Regions from separate parts of the Homo sapiens genome. Here region 2 is linked to region 1. The links are contacts of gene promoters, found by promoter capture Hi-C in blood cells and fetal thymus (Javierre and others, 2016). All regions are on one chromosome and are shown on one strand. Each heading gives the region's core, a stretch centred on a gene start or on the middle of the fragment in contact. The rest is flanking DNA. Distances are from core to core; before and after follow the strand shown. Region 1 holds the start of EGOT (eosinophil granule ontogeny transcript). Region 2 overlaps ITPR1 (inositol 1,4,5-trisphosphate receptor type 1).

Region 1 (4,383 bases), core at 1,037-3,536:
ACCACTTGAGATTCTATTGCAAGGAGTGCAGGAGAGAAAACAGGTGAGAGCCCGCACAGTACCGGCAGGGTGTCTACACCAGCCACGTTCCCTTCGCTGCTCTCCACACAAACTGTGACAAGGACACTTGGCCATAGAAGCCGAAAAAAATAAATCCACTCAGGCCGGATGGAGGCAAGGACACTGGCTTAGGTGGCAAAGCATCAAGCAAAGCAAGTGCCTCCTTGATGAAGACTGCAGTCACCCCCAGTCAACCCTAGTCCTTCCCAACTCAACTGACTCTCGGGTACAGCCGAGTCTGGTCCCCAGCAGAATGCTCTGGGACTCTTCATGTCTCCCCACCCTGCATCCCCATCTTGCTGTGTGCTGGCCCACCAGGTAACTTCCACACGGCCACAGAGAGCATCCCTGGCAGCTGACAGTAAGATGTACAGATGGCCAAGCGGTTAGAGCAGGGCAGGGTGAAATCACACAGCACTCATCTGGGTAAAGCTGCTTTGTATATTAGGGCTTTGGCGGCGGCAGCGCATATCCAAGCAGGGGACAGGCCCAAGCCAACTTGGTGCCCTTTAGAAGCACCGACTAGGGATCGGCGGGAACCACAGAGATCACCTCATCCAGCCCCGACTTGATGACAAGCCCATCACCCTGGTGGAGCAGATACTTTCCGCAGCTCTGCCCCTGACCGACCACCATGGGGTAGACCGCGTTAGCTTCCTTCACTCAGCTCCTCCAACATCCCAAGCACAAGCCAACCCTCTTCTGAAATACTCTTGCCCTCTGCTACTCTTCACACAGCTCCTTCTCTTCGCATCTGTTGGGTCTCAGCTTGAACGGTATCTCCCCAGAGAAGCCCTCCCTGGCCACGCTTCGTGGCGCCTGTTTGCTTCCCCATCACACTTCTCTGAAGCTCTGATTTAGCTGATGATGAGCTGATTTCCTAGCTCTGTCTCCCACAAGACTGTAAGCTCCTGGAGGGCAGGGGCTATGTTGGTCTCATCCCTGACTGTATTGACGCCAATGTGTATAGCACCTGACACCCAGGGAGTGCTCAGTAAGTAAACATCTGCTATATTAAGCCGGCTGTGGTGACACAAGCCAGTAGTTCTAGCTACTCCGGAGGCTGAGACAGAAAGATCTCTTCAGCCCAGGAGTTCAAGGCCAGCTTGGTCAACACAGTAAGGCCTCTTCTCTCTTTTTAAAAAATTTACTATATTAATGAATGAACAATAATCCTGAAGGAGGTGCAATTCCGAAACACTCAAGCCAAGCTTTGCATCCATGGCAGCTGAAGTATAACTTTATGGCCAGAAGAAGCCTGCATGTGAAAGCTCAAAGTCCTGCTAAGTGGGAATATGCAGCACACCGCAGACCAGCCAAAGGCAGCTGATGTGGTGTTGTCACCTCTACGGGCTTATCCGGTTTTTGCACGTAACTCTGTGATGGGCTCAGCCTGGCTGAGGATCCTTAATCCATCGAGTTAACTGTTAACTACCCCGGCCCCAGTGACACAGCAGCTTGCATGATTAACTACAGCCCGGGAGGGATGATCATTTGTGCACCTTCCGTCTCCAAACCTGGCTCCCTCCCCAGACTTGATAGCTACAAGCTCTGGGCTCAACAGTTTGTGGGTTTGTGTTGCAAGGAGGCTAATAAAAACATATTTCTCAAATACCATATGGTGAGGGCAACTGCAACACATCCTCCTCGAAGAGCAATAAAATATATATATTTTTAAAGTCCTGAATTCCAGGGGAAAAACGAGGCTTGAAGACTTCAGAGGGTTTACAGGACTATCCCCTTCAGTGTCAGAGCCATCTTGATCAAAAGTCTAAAACCCAGGAATAGGAAATTGGTAGAAACTTTGAGAGAGCCTCTGACAGTTTCAAAGAGGAACTCAGAGGACCTCAGGAAATGTGAGCGGGCATAGATTTCTCCGTGAAAAGGAGGGTCAAGGCAGAAGAACCAGAGGCAACTGTGAACATCAAGTCAGTTCTCAGGGAAGCAGGGGATCCAAGTGTGTACATGAGGCGCCTTCACTGTCCCTGCATCAGGAATCTAGCTGTTGGCACCTTATAATGAGAAAACAGTCTCAACCATGAAGTTAACTCTGCTGGAAGATTTCCAAAGGGAAAGTCCCTCCCGTTACTCAGAGGGGAAAAAAAAATTACCTACTTGGTCTGGAATCCGGGGATATTTTATGCAGATGTCTCTAACAGAAGTTAATAAAGGGAAGTCAGCTTGCCTCTGATTATTCAAACAGGCTACTGCTATTAAGGATTGCACAACTTCTGGGCAAGGCAGAGGTGGGTTTGGCTTTTTAAAAATTTTTTCAGCCTGTCCTCATGGAACTACATATTCTTTTCTAAGAACTTTTCATCCTAACCTCCCTACTCACATCTTCTAAGTGTCTCTGCTCTGGTGGGAATGTGATGGACAACACAGAGCCATCTCAGAAGCCTCTGTGGCCACCACCAGGCCGGCCAGGGTGCAGGGGGCCACTCCCTGGGCAGCCATAGGGTTCTCAGCAAGGTGCATTCGTCGTCCCTGCTGAGAATCTGATGGGGCAGCATTTTTTTTTTTAATTAAATGCAAGCTGAGTCATTTCAACCTGCAACCTTCAGGTAACAGGAGTTACCCAAGCTCCAGGAATTATGATTGTGGGGTAAACCCATTCTCTTGTTTTCTTGCGGTTCTATTTTATAACGCACTAGAGGAGACAGAGACGTCATTGCTTCACCCAGGGCAAGAGGACAAAGGAGGATGCATGGAAATACAAACAGCCCTTCTCCTCCAGGCCATACCGACTGTCCAACTAGCAACAGACTTCACCTGGTTTTGGAGCAATCTGAATTTGGAATATGCCAGAGAAAACTTCTATCAGGCAAGATGGAAGACTCCTAGGATAGGTCTCTCTCATGGAGGGATTGGTAATAAAAAAATCATGGGAAAAGAAATAAGGGAGGGTGGAAAAAACACACCTTAGAAAACAACTTCTGATGTCCCGGGGCTACACAATGGGGGAGCTGAGCACTTAGGAAGGAGAGGGAAAATATTCTGTTTCCGGAGACAGCTCCAAGAATCATGAGTAGGTGTGAGAAACAAGGAAGCTTACAGATTTAAAAAAAAAAAGAAAGAAAGAAAGGAAGGGGGCAAAAGGAAGGAGTCAGGGAAGGGGGGAGTGAGATCTTTGAGAGACAGGGGAATTAAAAAACACCATAGCAACAACGCAGTCCACCTACCCTGGCCGCCCACCCACAGCCAGATTCTTTACTGACGCATTTGAGAACAAGCTGGTTCCTACCAGCTCAGGAAGGTGAGCAAACCCAGAGAGCTCATTAAATCCCTTCTCAGCGACTCTTGTCTGCCTGCAGATAGTGAGCAAGGAGGATATAAATAGAAGTTATATAACATCTCTTTGTTGATTCCTGTGCTTACCAAAAAAAAATGCAGCATGACCTTGTTTTTCTTTAGAGTTTGCCTCGGCCTGCTGGTTGAGGACTTTAATCCAGATAGGAATCATCTTGAAGTTTAAACAGCAGGATATAGATTTCCAAGTTAAGGGTGCTCTGCATGGCCATCCAAGTTAGGAACCCACAGGGTCAAGTCCTCCTCCGCGGATTAAAAAAAAAAAAATCCACCAGCTCTAAAACAACAACAGCAGGTATGGAATCTTGTGGCTTCCTCTTAGAACATCTCCTGAGGTAAATTAAGGAGTAAATTTGATACCCAAGAGCAAAGCATCATTAAAATGGCATCTTGGGTTTTCTAAAGGAGGTTCGAGCACCACAGGTATATTCAAAGGTAACTGGTGGTTTCCACATACCCTCCAGGCCTAAGCAGTTGTCTTTTTGTTCCTTAACAGGCACGATGGTAAGAGTCCAGTGGATGGAAAAGGCCTCCTCCTTAAAGATGGTGATGGAAACGAGCACTGCACAGGGAAACACAAATCAGGTCCCCTGAAATCCAGCCCAACCTGGCCAGACCCTCCAGTGCCCATCAGGGCTTATGAACAGGGTGCTTCAGTGTCTTTGTTAGGGGTGGTTAAAAAGGAGCACGTGCTTATAGGGGATGCTGCTGAGCTCCATGATTTTGACTTCCTGTCTAACCTGTTGATGCTACAAAACTCTTTTAAAAACAGTTACCATGGGAACTTTTCCCTAGCAAGCATTCTTCAAGAAACGTTACAGGTGCTGGTGAATTCAATGCCCTTGGTGTCAATAAGCTTTTGCTGAGTCTTAGAATGTGTGGCTTGAACTGAGAGGACTTTCAAACAGATAATGCGAAGTTTCCAATGCAAATGTCTTCGGGGTTAAGTGTCAGTGAAGTGCAGTGGAAGGTAGGGGGATAAAATGATCTCAGTGTATATGGAGGCCCCACTTA
Region 2 (4,543 bases), core at 827-3,326, 79 kb after region 1:
GGTAAGAGAAGGCATGTATTTTCCTTGCACTTTCTGATAAATTTTCATTTTGTTTCATAAGGAGGAAAAATAAGAAATGGAAAGCTACTGATCTGCTCTGATGACTAATCAAAAAAAAAAAAAGACCTCATCATTTGCTCTACACAGCTTCCCAAGGATAATATTAACACCAGGCAAGCAGAGTTATTCCCAATAAGGACACAGATAATAACACTCTGCGATCCTCAGCAATACAGCTCTTAAAAGGCAAAAGCAGTCTCAGAAACGTTGTTAACTCAGAAGTAACAAGGATTTATGTTCTGCAAATGATTAAGCTATGGCAGATTGCAAGCACAGTGTTTCTCTCTTGTCAGTTTTAACACAAAGTGATGTTCTATCATTTTATGTGGTTCAAGTCACCTTGTATATTTCTTTTAAGCCCATAACTACTATTAAGCCATGTGACTGGTATCCGTTTTATTTTATTCTGGAACAAAACCAAGCTGAATTCCTTTCCATTACAAAACCAGAGCATCATGACCAAAATCACAACCTACTCACATATTTTCTATTTGCCCCATAGAAAAATGACCACTGAGAGGCAGATAATACACATAGAAGATTTCATCATGAGTTACCTCAAACGTAAGCTTATTCTTCTCTTTATCAGAGAAAGGGAACCTCTGACAAACCACATCTCTTAAATACTCCTCCACAAACTCCATGGTCTGAGCAAATCTCTCCTTAATTTCATCTTTGGAAGCTCCACTACTATCATAGCTGAAAAGAAAGGAGAAAGAAAGGAAACAAAATTTCAAGTTATTCCCAGAGAGGTCTTCCTGGGTCACTCAGCTTCAAAAGTCAACATCCCCTAACCCTTGGCATCCCTTGACCCTACTTTATTTTTTCCCTCCTTAGCATATATCACCAACTATATATTTGAGTCGTTTATCTTGCCTATTGTCTGTCTTCCACCAACTAGCATAGAGATTGCTTTCTAGTTTGTTCACTGATATATTTCTTGAGCTTGGCACATAGTACACACTTAAATATTTGCAGAATGAAAGAGGAGATAAATGAGATATAAAAAATACAATCGGGGCCAGGCGCGGTGGCTCACGCCTGTAATCCCAGCACTTTGGGAGGCCGAGGTGGACGGCTCACAAGGTCAGGAGATCGAGACCGTCCTAGCTAACACGGTGAAACCCCGTCCCTACTAAAAATACAAAAAATTAGCCGGGCGTGGTGGTGGGCGTCTGTAGTCCCAGCTACTTGGGAGGCTGAGGAAGGAGAATGGCACGAACCCGGGAGGCAGAGCTTGTAGTGAGCCGAGATTGCGCCACTGCAGTTCAGCCTGGGCAACAGAGTGAGACTCCATCTCAAACAAACAAACAAACAAACAAAAACCAAAAACATAATCATGCCATCTTTCACATTCTTGAGGAAAAAAATATTTGCCATCCACTTAATTTTATTTTAAGCTTGAAGAAAAAACCAACACTTCATCTTTCTTCTAAGATTTAATGAGACCATATGGGGCTATCTACTGCCGCACAGAATAATGTAAAGTGAGGTTTTCAGGTGCCAGGCTCACTCGTCAATGGCGATCTCCGAGGGAATCTCCGACCAGAGGCGGGCATATTTCACGGGGGTGACTTGTTCCTGGGGATCTCGGTCCACATGCATGTGAAGCATGAGGCGGCAGAAGGACGCCCTGAGGTCATAGGGCAGGTTCTCGTCAGACATGCAGCGGAGAATGAGATCGACATCCAGCTGGCCTGAGATTTCGTTGATGGCCAGGTATTGGCGGTCCAGACACATCCTCGCAAAGAGGTTCAGCTGATATCTAGAGGAAGGAACAAGGGCACACAGCTCACGCTCCAGAAATCATTCAGGATGAATGAAGGGTCGTCTGGGCAGCCCTGACTGTCATGGGAGTGACATTTGGCCAACTAAACTCATACATCAACACCCCTAAATTGCTCTTGTATACCAGGATTTTGGCTTTGGTACCAAGCAGATAAAAGAACTATTCAAGCTGTGCAGTAGAGTGTGGGTTGACAGCCAACAGGAACACATGTCTATCCAGCTGTGTTGGAGCAATTATGTGACGACCTAATTCCACTAGGTCCTTAATGTTTACTTTTTAAAATAAACGGGGGGAATGCTAAGGCCTAAGATGGTTGTCTATTTCTTTCCCTTCAGCTGTGTTTTATACAGTAAAGACCATGTAGGAAATGTTCAAGATATCACACATATTCAGCCTAATTAGAAATTTTATAACATTTTAAAGATCTTATATCATGTAAGTCACTCTAATTCCTACACGTGTAAAAAAACATTTCATTTACAAAAGTAGGAGACTCCTCACTTTTCATCTTCATCCAATTGCAAGTGAATGTTGTTAACTGGAACCTGACCAATTAAGGCACTCTTTCTCATTCACTTGGGAGAAGATTCATCAAACACTGAAAGAGTAAACATACTTGAAATGTGAAATAACGAGAAAGCCACAGGCTTTCAAAATACTGCCTTCTGAATTAAAAACTCTATGTATTTCTAATAATCATGATTTGAAGACATTCTCAGCCTCATTAGATGTCGGGGAAATGCAAGTGTAGACATGAGTCTATTTCACACTTATAAAATTACCAAAAATTAAAAAGCATCATGATATTCAAGGTTAACAAAGACATGAAGAAACAAAGCTTGTCGTCTACAACTGGTGGGTGTGTACACTGACACATCCAATTTAGAATTGCTTAGTAAAGCTTAAAATATGAATATCCTCCAAGCCCACCTCCCAGTGTGGAATGGAAATTCATACATATACTCAGAAAAATTTGAATGAAGATGTTTCCTGACATGAAGAACTGCAGCATGTGATCAAATATCAAACAGCGATGAAAATGTGATAAATCAATAAAACAGAATATCATCCAACAGTCCAAATTACAGAAATGGATTAATCTCTATTAACGCAGATATATTCAATATGGCTTCAGTACCCGTATTGAATAAATAAGGCAAGTTTTAGAATGGTATTTGGAGTACAGTCCCATTTATATAAAATTTTAAGTAGAGATAAAATACTACATATGATTTACAGATGCATACAAATGCAGCACACAGAGAATGTGGATAGGATGCGTACATCACACATGAATGAAAGAACAGAATACAGGAGGCAAGAAAAGGCATTTTATCTGCAGTTTTATTTATTTTATTAAAAAATAATAAAAGCCTTGCTTTATCTTCCCTTTCCTTTTCTTTTAAAAGTATTAATTGGTTCACTTCCTTTCTTTCTTCCCCTTCCCTTCCCTTCAGGTGGCAGGACTGGCAGGTCTTACAGCTGGAGCCAAGGAGACACTGGGGACCGTGGAGGTGGGTGGCAGAGGTGAGACAGGTACACACAGGGAAACGGGCAGATGGGTAAACATACAGGGAATCGTGGCAGCTGGAGGGAGTCATGAAATGGAAAAGGTGAAGGCTAGAATAAATCCTATGGTGTTGGAATGGAATTGGAAGTATTAGTGTAAGTACATGCTTTTTATTATATATTTGTGTAGTTATAGAAAGATACATGGATGAATGTGTAGATATATGTGTATACAAACACACACATCTTCTGTCTCTGTCTATAAACATTTGGTGAGATTGGCACTATCACCTTCATTTTGCAGATAAAGAAATTAGAGCATAAAATCAAACTTGGCCAATGTCAAAAAACTGGTAAGCGGAGAGGTAGGGATGTGACCCCACAGCCTGCCTCTTACGTACCTACCACCATATCTATGGGCCATGCTGCTGAAGGATAAACTATCACCAGGGACTGAGGCAAGCACTCATCCTTTTTGGGAACCAGCCACATCCAGATGTCAACTAACTGAAATCTTACACTCCAAACTCCTAAAACACACATCTGGCTTTTTTCTAGACAATCTTACAAGATGACTCCTTGTGATTCCTTGAAGTAATCAACAAACGAGCAACAAATTCCTAAGTGCCACTGTTTTGGGGCACCCCAATCTGAGCCCCACACGTGTCCCACGCACCTGTAGTAGCTGAGAACGTCTCGGTCCTCCTTCTGCCCTTCTTTAGCATCCTGAGCCAATTCCCTCACACTCTTGCTGCGAATCTCTTTGTTGCTGTCCCTCCAAAACAGCCACACCTCTTCCTCGTCTTCTCCTGCCTCCAGAGCATTCTCTCCAGTGGAAGAGACACCTTCAAATTCAAAACGAGAAAGAACCAACCTAGAAAACAAGAGGAGGAGGGAAAAGTTACTATTTTTAAAAATACTTTGAGATCTAGCTTTACTTTCAGCATAAAGACACATGGAAAGACACTTTTTGTTTTGTATTTCCCCCAAGGGCAGAGCCGCAGAGAGCCTGACATTAACATCTTCATATACTGTAACCCAGTGGTTCTCGACTATGGTGCTGCTGCCCCCAGTGGACACCAGGCAATGTCTCTGGACAGGTTTTTGGTTGTCACAACCGAAATGGAGAGGTGCTACTGGCATCTAAGTGGGTAGGGGCCAGGGATGCTGCTGAACATTTTACAG

Evidence for each region. Contacts are between HindIII fragments. The CHiCAGO score rates a contact against its expected background, and 5 or more counts as called.
Region 2: a fragment that was not itself captured here is called in contact with the fragment with the promoter of EGOT in region 1 in 1 of 17 cell types (naive B cells); the score reaches 5.7 in naive B cells.

The regions. Positions count from the first base shown.
Region 1 is chr3:4,749,493-4,753,875 of GRCh38, reverse strand. EGOT (eosinophil granule ontogeny transcript) reads left to right here and starts at 2,286. Exons shown (of 2, transcript NR_004428.1): 1 at 2,286-2,930; 2 at 3,866-4,383. The region is part of intron 44 of ITPR1 (inositol 1,4,5-trisphosphate receptor type 1); the gene reads right to left. RefSeq lists an enhancer at 4,164-4,233. The HindIII fragment of the contact is 1,839 bases long and covers 1,274-3,112 here.
Region 2 is chr3:4,670,418-4,674,960 of GRCh38, reverse strand. It overlaps ITPR1 (inositol 1,4,5-trisphosphate receptor type 1), which reads right to left. Exons shown (of 62, transcript NM_001378452.1): 20 at 4,035-4,232; 21 at 1,574-1,825; 22 at 618-759. Among named protein-coding and RNA genes, the nearest start is that of EGOT, 79 kb to the left of the region's middle. The HindIII fragment of the contact is 1,227 bases long and covers 1,463-2,689 here.